Linked DNA regions of Homo sapiens: region 1 is linked to region 2. Evidence: promoter capture Hi-C in human tissues and cell types (Jung and others, 2019). All regions are on one chromosome and are shown on one strand. Each heading gives the region's core, a stretch centred on a gene start or on the middle of the fragment in contact. The rest is flanking DNA. Distances are from core to core; before and after follow the strand shown. Region 1 overlaps KIF15 (kinesin family member 15). Region 2 holds the start of TGM4 (transglutaminase 4).

Evidence for each region. Contacts are between HindIII fragments. The study calls those that stand out against the background at their distance.
Region 1: a fragment that was not itself captured here is called in contact with the fragment with the promoter of TGM4 in region 2 in 3 of the 25 tissues and cell types used here (mesenchymal stem cells, pancreas and spleen).

What each region holds. Positions count from the first base shown.
Region 1 is chr3:44,836,469-44,842,564 of GRCh38, reverse strand. KIF15 (kinesin family member 15) reads right to left here. Exons shown (of 35, transcript NM_020242.3): 27 at 4,144-4,290; 28 at 2,109-2,210; 29 at 1,327-1,491. Among named protein-coding and RNA genes, the nearest start is that of MIR564, 22 kb to the left of the region's middle. The HindIII fragment of the contact is 7,865 bases long and covers 1-5,182 here.
Region 2 is chr3:44,869,663-44,875,857 of GRCh38, reverse strand. It overlaps TGM4 (transglutaminase 4), which reads right to left and starts at 1,250. Exons shown (of 14, transcript NM_003241.4): 1 at 1,161-1,250. The coding sequence starts at 1,179. It also overlaps the pseudogene PPIAP18. The HindIII fragment of the contact is 8,283 bases long and covers 1-1,829 here.

The DNA.
Region 1 (6,096 bases), core at 1-2,500, 33 kb after region 2:
CTGAGAACTGCCCTAAATAAAAAGATTGGGAATAATCTTCTCCATGAATAACAAAACTCAAGATAAGTGCTGTCTTTATATACATCCCTTGGTTAAAGTGAACAATTTGTGTTCCTAAACAAAAACTCCCTGCAGAGCAATGACCTCACAGGATAAATGCTATCTTCTGTGGAGCATCACATCCTTCCCCATGCACCTACACACCTACCCAGACACTCTTCCATGTGCCCCACCCCTGAGCCATGTGCACACCCCACTACTCAGACAACATACCATCAAGTAACTGGGTAAAAACACTATGAGGAAGCTTAAAAAAATGGAAAACAAGAAAGTATTTTAAATTTATCAGAGACTAAAAAAATCTCTAATATATAAAAATGCCTATGAATCAATAAGAAAAAGTCCAGTGATAGAAAAATGGGTAATGGATATTGTTCACAGAAACAGAAAAACAAGATGCTCAATTTTACTCTTAAGAAAAATATAAATGTAAAACTACATCATTTAATACTTTAGCTATTAAACGGACAAAGATCCGAAATTCAGATAGCACCATGAGGTGAGGTTTAAGGAAACATGCTCTCACCTTCATTCCTGATGAGAGCATAGCTGGCGCAACCTGTATATGACACCATTGTGTAAAAACCAAATGGGGCAGGAGAGAATGCTTAGCGATGTGGTTATGTATGCATTAAAAAGCTCTAAAAGAAAGGGGCTACCCTGGAAGCCTCCAGGGACAGCAAAGTAGGTGGATTAGTATCAGGGGTAGAAGGAATACTTTTCTCTGTCTACCTTTCAGTTCTGTGCTTTTTGAATTTTGTATCCTCAGTAACCATGAGGATGCTGCTTAGTTTAAAAAATTAAATTGGCCAGGCGCGGTGGCTCACACCTGTAATCCCAGCACTTTGGGAGGCTGAGGTAGGCGGATCATGAGGTCAGGAGATCAAGACCATCCTGGCTAACACAGTGAAACTCCGTCTCTACTAGAAAATACAAAAAATTAGCCGAGTGTGGTGGCGGGCGCCTGTAGTCCCAGCTACTCGGGAGGCTGAGGCAGGAGAACGCTGTGAACCTGGGAGGCGGAGCTTGCAGTGAGCCAAGATCACACCACTGCACTCCACCCTGGGCGACAGAGGCAGACTCCGTCTCAAAAAAAAAACAAAAAAAAAAAAATTAAATTTACTGGCTGGGCATGGTGGCATATACCTATAGTGCCAGATACTGGGTGGCTGAGGCAAATGGATCACTTGAGCCCAGCCTGGGCAACATAGCGAGACTTGGTCTCTTTAAAAATAATTAAATTTACTGGAAAAAAAATCCAATTACCTTCATTCTGAGGATTTCAGCATTTTTGACTTCTCTGTCTTCATTTAGCTTTGTTACAAGGTGTTCCAAAGAAGTCTTAGAGGCTCTTCCATCTTCTATCTCTTGTTCTTGTGTTTCCAGGAGTTTTGCCAAATGTGTTTGAAAGTGAGGTGGTGTCTTAGGACTCTAAAATAAAATCACATCTCATCCAAATATCCAATTAAGTGATATTATAAAGATTTCTTTTAAACGTAAATGTCAAGTACATAAAAAATATTCTAGCTACGGCTGGGCATGGTGGCTCACACCTGTAATCCTAGCACTTTGGGAGGCCGAGGTGGGCGGACTGCCTAAGCTCAGAAGTTCAAGACCAGCCTAGGCAACACAGTGAAACCCTGTCGCTACTAAAATACAGAAAAAAAAATTAGCCAGGCGTGGCAGTGTGCACCTGTAGTCCCAGCTACTTGGGAAGCTGAGGCAGGAGAATTGCTTGAACCTGGGAGACGGAGGCTGCAGTGAGCCGAGATCATGCCACTGCACTCCAGCCTGGGTGACAGAGCAAGACTCCATCTGCCAAAAAAAAAAAAAAAAAAAAAAAAAAAAATCCGCTGCTTAGCTTATTATTCTAATTCTTTTCCAAGGAAATAAAAGACTGCTACTTTCATCAAGTAAAAAGCAGACAGAGGGTATTAGTGAAAATCTTTTTCTTTAAAAAGACAAAGGTATGTTCTTCCTAATTTCCAAATTTTTATCATTTACAAAACTGTTTCTTCCTCCTGAAATAATCTTTTTCTGAAAAGTACCTGGGGATCCTCAGCAGCAGAATCCATCACATGTTCTAGTTGCCTCATTTTGAAGTTATATTCATTCTTCTTCTGTTCTACTTCCTCTTTCTTTTGGTTTAGCTGGGAAAATTGAACAGATACAAGGTTACAACTTAGTAATATGGGGTACATGGTCCAAATAGAAAAGACAAACTTCCCATCACCAATCATCAGGGAAATGCAAATGAAAACCACAATGAGATATCACTTCGCACCTGATAGGGATGGCTATCATCAAAAAGATGAAAGTTAAGTGTTGGTGAGGTTGTGGAGAAAAGGGATCCTTGTATACTGTTGGGAATGTAAATTAGCACAGCCATTGTGAAAAATAGTATGGAAGTTCCTCAACAAACTAAAAACAGAACTACTGTATGATCCAGCAGTCCCACCTCTGGATATATATCCAAAGGAATTAAAATCAGTCTATTGAAGAGACAGCGGCACTCCCATGTTCTCTGAAGCATTATTCGTAATAGCCAAGCTATGGAGTCAACTTAACTGTCTATTGATGGGAGAATGGGTAAAGAAAATGTGCTATATATATACACAATGAAATACTACTTAGTCTTAAAAAGGAAGCAAATTCTGTCATTTGTGACAACATGGATGAACCTGGAGGACACTGTTCCAAGTAAAATAAGCCAGCACAGAAAGACAAATACCACACAATCTCACTTATATGTGGAATCAAAAAAAGTTGAACTCATAGAAATGGAGAGTACCAGAGTCTGGGGGAAGTGAGGGGTGGAAGGAGACATGAATCAGCAATGGGAGATGTTGGTCAAAGGGTATAGTTTCAGTTGGACAGGAGGAATACCTTTTGGAGATCTACTGCAGGGCATGGTGATTACAGTTATTAGGTTGATGCAAAAGTAATTGCGGTTTCTTCCCATGGCATATGGAAATATGCTGTATTTACATTATTTTTTCAGAACTTGATTAATAATTTGAAAAGCAGTAAGATATTAAAATAAACCTATGATATTTTTAAAAGTAATTGTGAAATCTAACTTGGTTGCTACTATAACCCAATCATCATCTCCTTTTCTTTTCTTTTTTTTTTGAGATGGAGTCTCTCTCTGTCGCCCAGGCTGGAGTGCAGTGGCGCGATCTCGGCTCACTGCAAGCTCCGCCTCCCGGGTTCACACCATTCTCCTGCCTCAGCCTTCCCGAGTAGCTGGGACTACCGGAGCCGGCCACCACGCCCGGCTAATTTTTTTTGTGCTTTCAGTAGAGACGGGGGTTCACCGTGTAAGCCAGGATGGTCTTGATCTCCTGACCTCGTGATCCACCCACCTTGGCCTCCCAAAGTGCTGGGATTACAGGTGTGAGCCACCGCACCTGGACCCATCTCCTTTTCTCTCACAAATTTATTTATACTTATAAAAATGTTCCAAGTTTCACAAGTAACAAAACAGTCATCTGAGAAAAATACAAAATATAAAATGACAACAACAACCACCAAAAATATGATAAAAGTCAGGCATAACCTCACTGGAGTGGTTAGAACTGGTTGCCATGTGTCAAGGACCTAAGGTGGGTGGGAGGCAGCTGAGCAAGTCTCAGTCCAGGTAAGGATACTCCATTAGCCTCCCCTTTGTACATGGAGAAGTTGGCCAATGCAGGAATGTCATGACAACCTCAACTGTGGATTCCTCCTGTCCCCCATTTTTTTTTTTTTTTTTTTTGAGACAGGGTCTCACTCTGTCACCCAGGCTGGAGTGCAGTGGTGCAATCTTGGCTCATTGCAACCTCCACCTCCCAGGTTCAAGCAATTCTTGTGCCTCAGCCTCCCAAGTAGCTGGGATTACAGGTGAGCGCCACCACGCCCGGCTAACTTTTCTATTTTTAGTAGAGACAGGGTTTCAGTTCACCATGTTGGCCAGACTGCTCTTGAACTCCTGACTTCAAGTGGTCCACCCCCTTGGCCTCTCAAAGTGCTGGGATTACAGGAGTGAGCCACTACACTTGGTCTCTTGTCTCCCATCTTGAGTGACACCTGTGTGTTTCTCACCTTGTGCTGAAGTTCCTGAATCAGGGCTTCCTTCTTGGTCAGTTCTTCCTGGGCAGACTGCAGCAGCCCCGAGTGTTTTTTTGAGGCCTCTGTGAGCATGTTCAGCTGCTCAGTGGCATGAGCCAGGTCCTCACAGAGCATATCCCTCTGTTAGGAGACAATCATCACAGTTTCTTAATTATGGTATTCCAATAAGGATTCCCAAATCATTACTATGTACAACTTTTAACAGACTAAGGAAGTTTTATGTAAAAACCTATTTCTTTTGCTTGTGTGCTAATCCATTCTAAGACAAAGTAATCAGTTAATATTTAGATGAACAGGTCTAGAGATTAACATTATTACAGTAAACATATATAGGTATCCCAATTGAGGTTTAACTGTACTCTAGGTTTGAGGTCTAATTGCATTCTCTCCTCACCCCCAGGATCTCAAGCCAATCTCCCTCTCCTGGGGAGGACTCAAAGGTCTCTTGGTTACTTGTTGTTGTCTCACCAATTGACTCTAGTCCTTTATATACTGGAAAGTAAACAGCTGTGAAGATGAGCCTCCATCAGCCAGTTGAGGAGGGCCTGGGCAGTTTGCACCAGATTGTGATTCATTGTCATAGACCATCAAAGTTTCAGGAAGTAGCTTTGTGGAAACTGGCACAGAAAATTAGAAGTCCTATAGGTTGCATACATAATTTCTATGTACACAGTATATGTAATTCCTCCCAAATTAGAGCAGATACTGCTTATCCTTCTTTTCCTTTCCAAATGTATATATATGTATGTAGGTATGTGTGTGCATGTATATATATATATACACACACATATATATGTGTGTACATAGACATGTACATATACATGGATATACACAGATATATATACACACATATAAACACACACTTTTAAAAAAACTTGACACATCACAAACATTTCTGCATGTACTCACTCTTTTCACTGTGTGGACTCCATTTCACCTTATGGATGTACCACAATTTAATCTATCACTAAATATTTTGGTTGATTTGAATTTTTCACTATTCTATGCACTTCATTCTTGTATCTAGATTATTTCTTTAGGCTGAATTTTTAAAAGTGCAAACTCAAAGGATATGTAAAAAATATAAGGCTATGTATTACCAGACTACCTCCCCAAAGGCTGAACATAAACTCCTCCAGAAGTTTGAGTAATCATCCTTGTCTGCACATCTTCCTTGGGTCTTAAACTTTACCAGTTATAAGATTAGAAAATAGCTGTTATTTTAATTTGTGAAACTGGCCCAACTGTCCCCTAGAACTGATGTTTATGGTTTCTTTTGAATAAACATAGAAATTGGCCCTCCCAGTCTTAAAACGTAAGAAAGTTACATTTGTCTTATCTGAGTTCCTTTCTCAGGGAACCAACCAACAGGCATCCCAGACAAGATCAAGGAACTGAAACTTACCAGATCATGGCAACTGGACAAATGAGATGCCAGGCCCCTCACCTGTCATGGCTGCCTAACTGACAACCTGTTTCCTGTTAACCAACTCCTTTTCCTTACCCCTCCCTAGTTCCTGCTTTTCCACACATGGTTACCTTTCTTGCTATATAAACTCCCAATTTTAGTCAGTCAGGGAGAAGGATTTGAGACTGATCTCCTATCTTGGCTATGGCACTCATTTAAAGTCTTCTTCGCTGGCAATACTCCTTGACTCAGTGATTGGCTTTCTGTGTGGTAAGCAACCAGACCTAGGCTGAACTCCTAATGTTTCAGGAACATTTGCATGTCTCTGATTCCAAAGAAGTTTTGTGCCACTATATTCCTTCTTTGGGGAGCTACCTATGTCCATTTTCCACCAGCTGTGTTTCTATCCTTCTCCTGAAGGATAAATTAAGGTGGTAAAATACTTTGTCATCAGTTGCAAATATTTTCCCCATCTGTTGTTAGAATTTTTGTTTTTAATATTGTATAATCTTCCCTTA
Region 2 (6,195 bases), core at 1-2,500:
CTAAGGAGGAATTCAAAACTCTGTGGCCTTGGGACTAAAAAGAAGAGTCTGATTTATTTCGCAATGTCACCCTCCAAAAAAGAAGGTGGAAACTAGGAGGGTCTGGCTTAGTCCCTTTGCAGAGTTTCAAAGCAGCCATTCCTTGGCTTATCAAGCAGCTTCTCAAGCAAGAGAGAAGGCTGCTGAGCAAACCCTGCTGGGAGGTTACAGAGGGCTTGTGGGCTGGGGAGTCAGCAGAGGGGTTCAAACCCAGCCTCGTTGTTCCCTAGCAGCACCCGGACTCCCTGAAGTAAAACTGAGGGCTCTGGTGTCTGCTCTTGGTGGTGGTAGGCGGCTGCATCCTCATGGGACACAGAGCCTGGCACATGACTCCGCTCTGCTATTCCCCACTCTGAGAAGCAATGACACTGCTGACAGCAGCAGACAGACCCTCTGCAGTAGGGAAATCCATCAGGTGACCTTGAGAAAGGACAGGACACATTGAGAGACATTCTACAAAATAACTGGTCTGTACTCTTCAAAAGTGTTGAAGTCACAAAACTCCAAGAATGACAGAAGAACTATTCCAGACAAAGGAGACCGAAGAGGCACAACAACGGAATGCAAAGCCTAACCCAGGATTTTCTTCTGCTATAAATGACATTATTGGGACAGTTGATGAAATCTGCATAAAATCTGTGGGTTGGATAACAGTATTGAAATGGTGTTCATGTCCTGGTCTTCATAATTGTATTGGTTACGTAAGAGAATGTCCTTGTCTTTAGGAAATACACACCAAAATATTTAATAATGTAATATCTGCAACTTACTCTCAAGAGTTCAAAAAATATATATTTGTCTATCTATCTGTCTATATCATCTATCTGTCCACTGATCGAGAAGGATAAAGCAAATGCAGTAATAATTTAGGGAATCTGGATAAAGGATATATGGAAATTCTTCTTTTTATTCTTGCAATCTTTTTGTAAATCTGAAATTATGCCTAAATGAAAAGTTTGTGGGTTTTCTAAAAAGGGATGAGACAGAAAGCAAGCAGCACCAGGGCCACAAGTCAGGGTGAGAGGGCAATGGCCCCAGGCACCCGGCAGAGGCAAGAGAGCAGTTTAGGGCCAGCTGGCTGAAGGGGCATGTGGGGCTCCATGGAGATTTCACCCACTCACCTTTTGATGCATCCATCATCCCTTCAGATTCTCTCCTGCAATGCCAGGGAAGACTCTATCTCTGATGCCTGGTGCTTCCACACAGTCGGTCCTCAGGGGAGGAAACAGCCCTTTTTATGTGATCCTGGGCTAGATGTGGCCTTGCTATGGCTGCCAAGGGGCGGGGTTTGGGAAGGCGATGTTGATTAGAAATAATAAAATCCCGGAATCTTCCATATCAGACCCAGGAAATCAGGAGCCAAGATGAGCTGATGTAAAAGGGACAGACAACGGACAATGGCACCTCCTTGTCTGTTATATGAGCCTAACAGTGGGTGACCAAAAGCCAGGACCCTATGACCTACACCACATGTGGCCTGACATTCTGGTTACTATCAAGCTTAAGTCTAGGAACCCAGGCTAACCTTTACTGACTTTAGGGTTTTCTTCTTCTTCTCTTTTCTTCAAGTTGAAAAAGTAAGAGATGCTTGTGAGTTTTTTGTTTTACATTTTGAATATATAATGCATCCACATGGTTCAAAATGGAAAAAAATGCCCCCTGTCCACCTTGTTGAATCCTACTACCAGTTTCTTTTAGATCTTTCCAGAGATGTTGTATGCACTGAGAAGCAAATAATGTACTATTATTATTATTTTGTTATTTAGTTTTTATTTCATAATCATAAACTTAACTCTGCAATCCAGCTAGGCATGGAAGGGAACAAGGAAAACATGGAACCCAAAGGGAACCGCAGCGAGAGCACAAAGATTCTAGGATACTGGGAGCAAATGGGGTGGAGGGTGCTCCCCTGAGCTACAGAAGGAATGGTCTGGTGGTTAAGATAAAACACAAGTCAAACTTATAAGAGCTGTCCACAGTCAGCAATGGTGATCTTCTGGCCGGTCTTGCCATTCCTGGACACAAAGCACTCCATGGCCTCCACAATATTCATGCCTTCACCTTGCCAAAGACCACAAGCTTGCCATCCAACCACTCAGTCTTGGCAGTGCAGATTAAAAACTGGGAACCATTTGTATTGGGTCCAGCATTTGCCATGGACAACATGCCAGGACCTGTATGCTTTAGGATGAAGTTCTCATCATCAAATTTCTCCCCATAGATGGACTTGCCACCAGTGCCATTATGGCGTATGAAGTCACCACCCTGACACATAAACCCTGGAATAATTCTGTGAAAGCAGGAACTCTTATAACCAAATCCTTTCTCTCCAGTGCTCAGAGCACAAAAGTTTTCTGCTGGCTTTGGAACCTTGTCTGCAAACAGCTTGAAGGAGACGCAGGTCTAAAGGCTTGCCGTCAACGGTGATGTTGAAGAACACGGTGGGGTTGACGATGGCTGATGTTACAGGGCTCCTGGCGGCAGTGGCATCTGCAAAGCAAATAATGTATTATTTTGTTTTATTTACACAATGAGAGCATATCACTGCATTGCCCAGGCTGGTCTGGAATGCCTAGGCTCAAGGGATCCGCCCCACCTTCACCTCCCAAAGTACTGGGATTACAGGTGTGAGCCACCACGCCTGGCAAGATGGAGCTGTTCCTATTGCACATGGAGAGGTGGCCCAGTCTTTTCACAGCTGCACATATTCTGTTTGTGTGGATGGTCCCTAATTTATGTAACTCACCTCCCACCCATAGGCATCTGGGTTGCTTCCAATATTTCCTTATTACAATCAGTGTTGCAAAGAATAAGGTTATACAGAGATCATTTTACCCTCACATGAGTGTATCTATAGGAAGAATTGAATGCCTTGAAGTGGAAATGTTGGGCCAAAAAGCATAAGCTTTTGTAATTTTAATGGCTATCTGCTCTGCTCTCCACAGGGGCACTTGTGGTATTTTTCAATGATGTTATGTCTACTGAAAGGAGCCAGCCTGGCATAGTAGCAGAAATGCCAGAGGAAGAGAGGAGACTCCTGACACTGAAACCCCAACACCACAGTAACTTGCCGTGTGTCACTGGGAATGTTGTCTTCATTAGCTCCTTACCTGAAAAGTGAGGGGGCTGAATAATGATGCCAACGGTCTCTTCCAGACCAAAAGCCCAGGGATGGGCAATTGCCTTTGCTGGCTTTAAGGCAAGCCAGAGAGCAATGACCCTGGTTACTCTGAATAACAATAATGAAGTCAGAGGTTTTTGCTGTTCTGCAGGCAAGCATCTCAGCACCGCATCCCTAAATATAATAGAACAAACCAAGCCCTGAAGTGCACATGGCATTTACGAAAAGTCTTGGCTGGGTTCTGTCTGCAGAGAAGCCCTAGGCCCTATGATTACAGGCTCAGGAGTGGGAGAAGGATGCTTGCTTTTCTCTGTATTTCCTTTTACATCATCAGAATTTAGCACCATGTGCATGAATTACCTATTTAAGAATAAATTCACTACTTAAATGGAAAAAGCCTCTAAATAAAAGTCCTGGCCTAGGGGTGAGAGGGTCCGGGTTTTAGTTGCTTCACCTCTCTGAGCTTCTTTCATCATTTTTGACAAATAAGGGGCTTGTGCAAGATGAGCTTTCGCCAGTGCCTTCCAGGCCAGAGAATCCAGGGTACCAGAGTGAGTATAAAAGTGTCTAAAAGAAATAGACTTTGGGTCAGACAGAACTGGGCCTACATCCTGGGTCCTCTACAGATCCACTGTGTGACCTTGGGAAGTTACTTCTCTGTGCCTCTGTTTCTTCATCTGGGAGGTGGGAAATAATAACACCCACGCCACAGGTCAAGTGTCTGAAGCAGGATGCTGTGAAGAGGCAAAGGCATTCAAAATTCTCTGCAAGAAATGAGTTACACCGCGGACCTTACAAAGGACCCCCCCCATCCCAACAACCTCATTTCACAGCTGGAAAAAGTGCAGCCTAGAGAGAGGCAGCCACCTGGGCATCAGGAGAGGATCCCCGTGAGCCTCCCTTCCCTCTTCCTGCAGCAGAACTTCCGGGCCTCAGCAGAGTCGGCCCTTATTTAGTTCCTTGTGCATGTGGCATTTTATCTGTCAGCTGGTCCCAAAGGATCATCTTTTCTCATGTTTCCTGTCTGGGGCCACAGCTGACACCATGGTCTAGTCACAGGCCACTGGGGCCATCAGCATCCCCCTCCCCCACCAGCTGCTGAACTGCAGCCACTGTATTGCACTAGCACCTGGTGGCCAACTCCAGGCATATTGGGATCAGAGGCAGCCCACTCAAGACCCTCTGCTCTCTGCTCTCCAAGAGGACCAGACACAGGCCCCACCATGGGACAGGAGGCTCTGAATGTGCTGTCCCAGAAAAGTTGGCATGGTCTACACTTCACATTAATCCACAGATGATGGAGCTGGGGAGGAGGGAGAAAAGGAAAAATCAGGCAAGAAGAGCCTGAAAACCACCAGGTAAGGTGGGGAACAGAAGACACGTTTCAAGATGAAGTTCATAGAGGACCTTAGCCAGGAATGGAATCTTCTCATTTTGTGTCCCTAGCCCATAGCATGGCACAGAGTGCTCAGCAGATGAGGGAATGCATGAATAAATGAACAAATAAGCAAACAGGACAGGGTGCTCAGGTGGAAGCCTGGGAGCGGCCCCATGCCTGTGCCTGTGGGGCAGGTGCCTCCTGCAGAGGTCAGGGGAGGCTGTGTCCTCTTCTCCCAACGCATGCTGGGAGTCCCTTTTGGAAGGAAAGCCCAATACACATTGGTTTTGGGGATTCAAGCCTAATCCCTGACCCACCTCTGCATCCACCCCCCAATTCTGAGGATGAAAGAACAACTGAGGCCCTGTTGGACTCTAGGCACCACAGCTGCTGTTCATGGTGCTAAGCTCGGAGCTAAATCATAAAGATAGGCATCCTGATGCATCCCCGCCCCCTTTTTTTGTGTGGAGACAGGGAGGAGTTAGTAAATACGCATCCACAGATTTGTGGGAGCAAAATCTTTTCTTCTTATATCTGAAACTATAAATTCATCTCTCATCTGACTCCTATTATATATGTAAACAACTTTATAGGAGAAAAATAAAAGAATCCAATAAACCCCGAAGTCACCTCTTTTTAAGCCACTCCTAGCGCTTGCCATTGTACACAAATGTGTTTACACTGCATGGAGCAAACCTGGCACTTCAGGCCATGCCTGGCAGGCTGCCTTGTGGACACTGTCTAGGATCCGCCTATTTCAAATGCTCACCCCTGTTCGTGGGCACGTGATATTCTACCATATTTGCCTAACCATTTCTCAACTATCAGGCAACTAACTGCTGCTAGCAGTAATGCAGCTAGGAACCCTGTTGCCTAAATTGTGTATTTTTTTCTTTTGAATTTTCCCCCTGGTGTAGCATTAGGTCTAACTGCATAGGGGACTGACTTTTAAACTCTGGTGAGGGGCTACCCTGTGAGGGACCATGCTGGTGACAGTCAGGACTCACTGCTGCAGGCCTCCAGGCAAGAAGAACTTTGGGGACCCTATTGAAGACCAGCAAGGGAACACGGAAGCAGTACAGACAAGACAGGCTCTCAGCCAGGCTATCTGGGGTCCCATCTCAGCTCAATCTATGACAAGTTGAGTGGATTTGGGGGAAATCTGAGCCCTCCAAGCCCTTGTTTCCCAAAGGAACTGGATGGCTCTGGAATTTGGAGTAATAATTATCTGCCCAGTCCAGCCCTGGAGCCAATTCCACTGGAACCAACATGGTCTGTCTCACCTCCCACCCTAACCTATCTGATTCACCACACCTCCAGACTCTGGGCTGGGCCCTGCTATTCCTTATCCAGGCCCAAAGAGCCCAGAGCACACATCGGCTAGCAAAGACGATCTTGGGGTTTTCTTGCTAAACAACAGCAGTAAGATTTGTATGTCTAATGATTGTTAAATGTGATCGTTCCCATTTATCAGTGAAGTATTGTCTAAAAACATTTATGAAACCTTACAAAAATTCAAAAAAAAACAGCAATGAAAACTTACATCTCCCTCATCAAGTTCAAGAAATAAAACTTATGGGTTATAACTGAAGCTCTCAGCCCCTTATATATCCCTTCCCAACCCCAATTTCCTTTCCTCCCTCCCCAAAGTAACCAC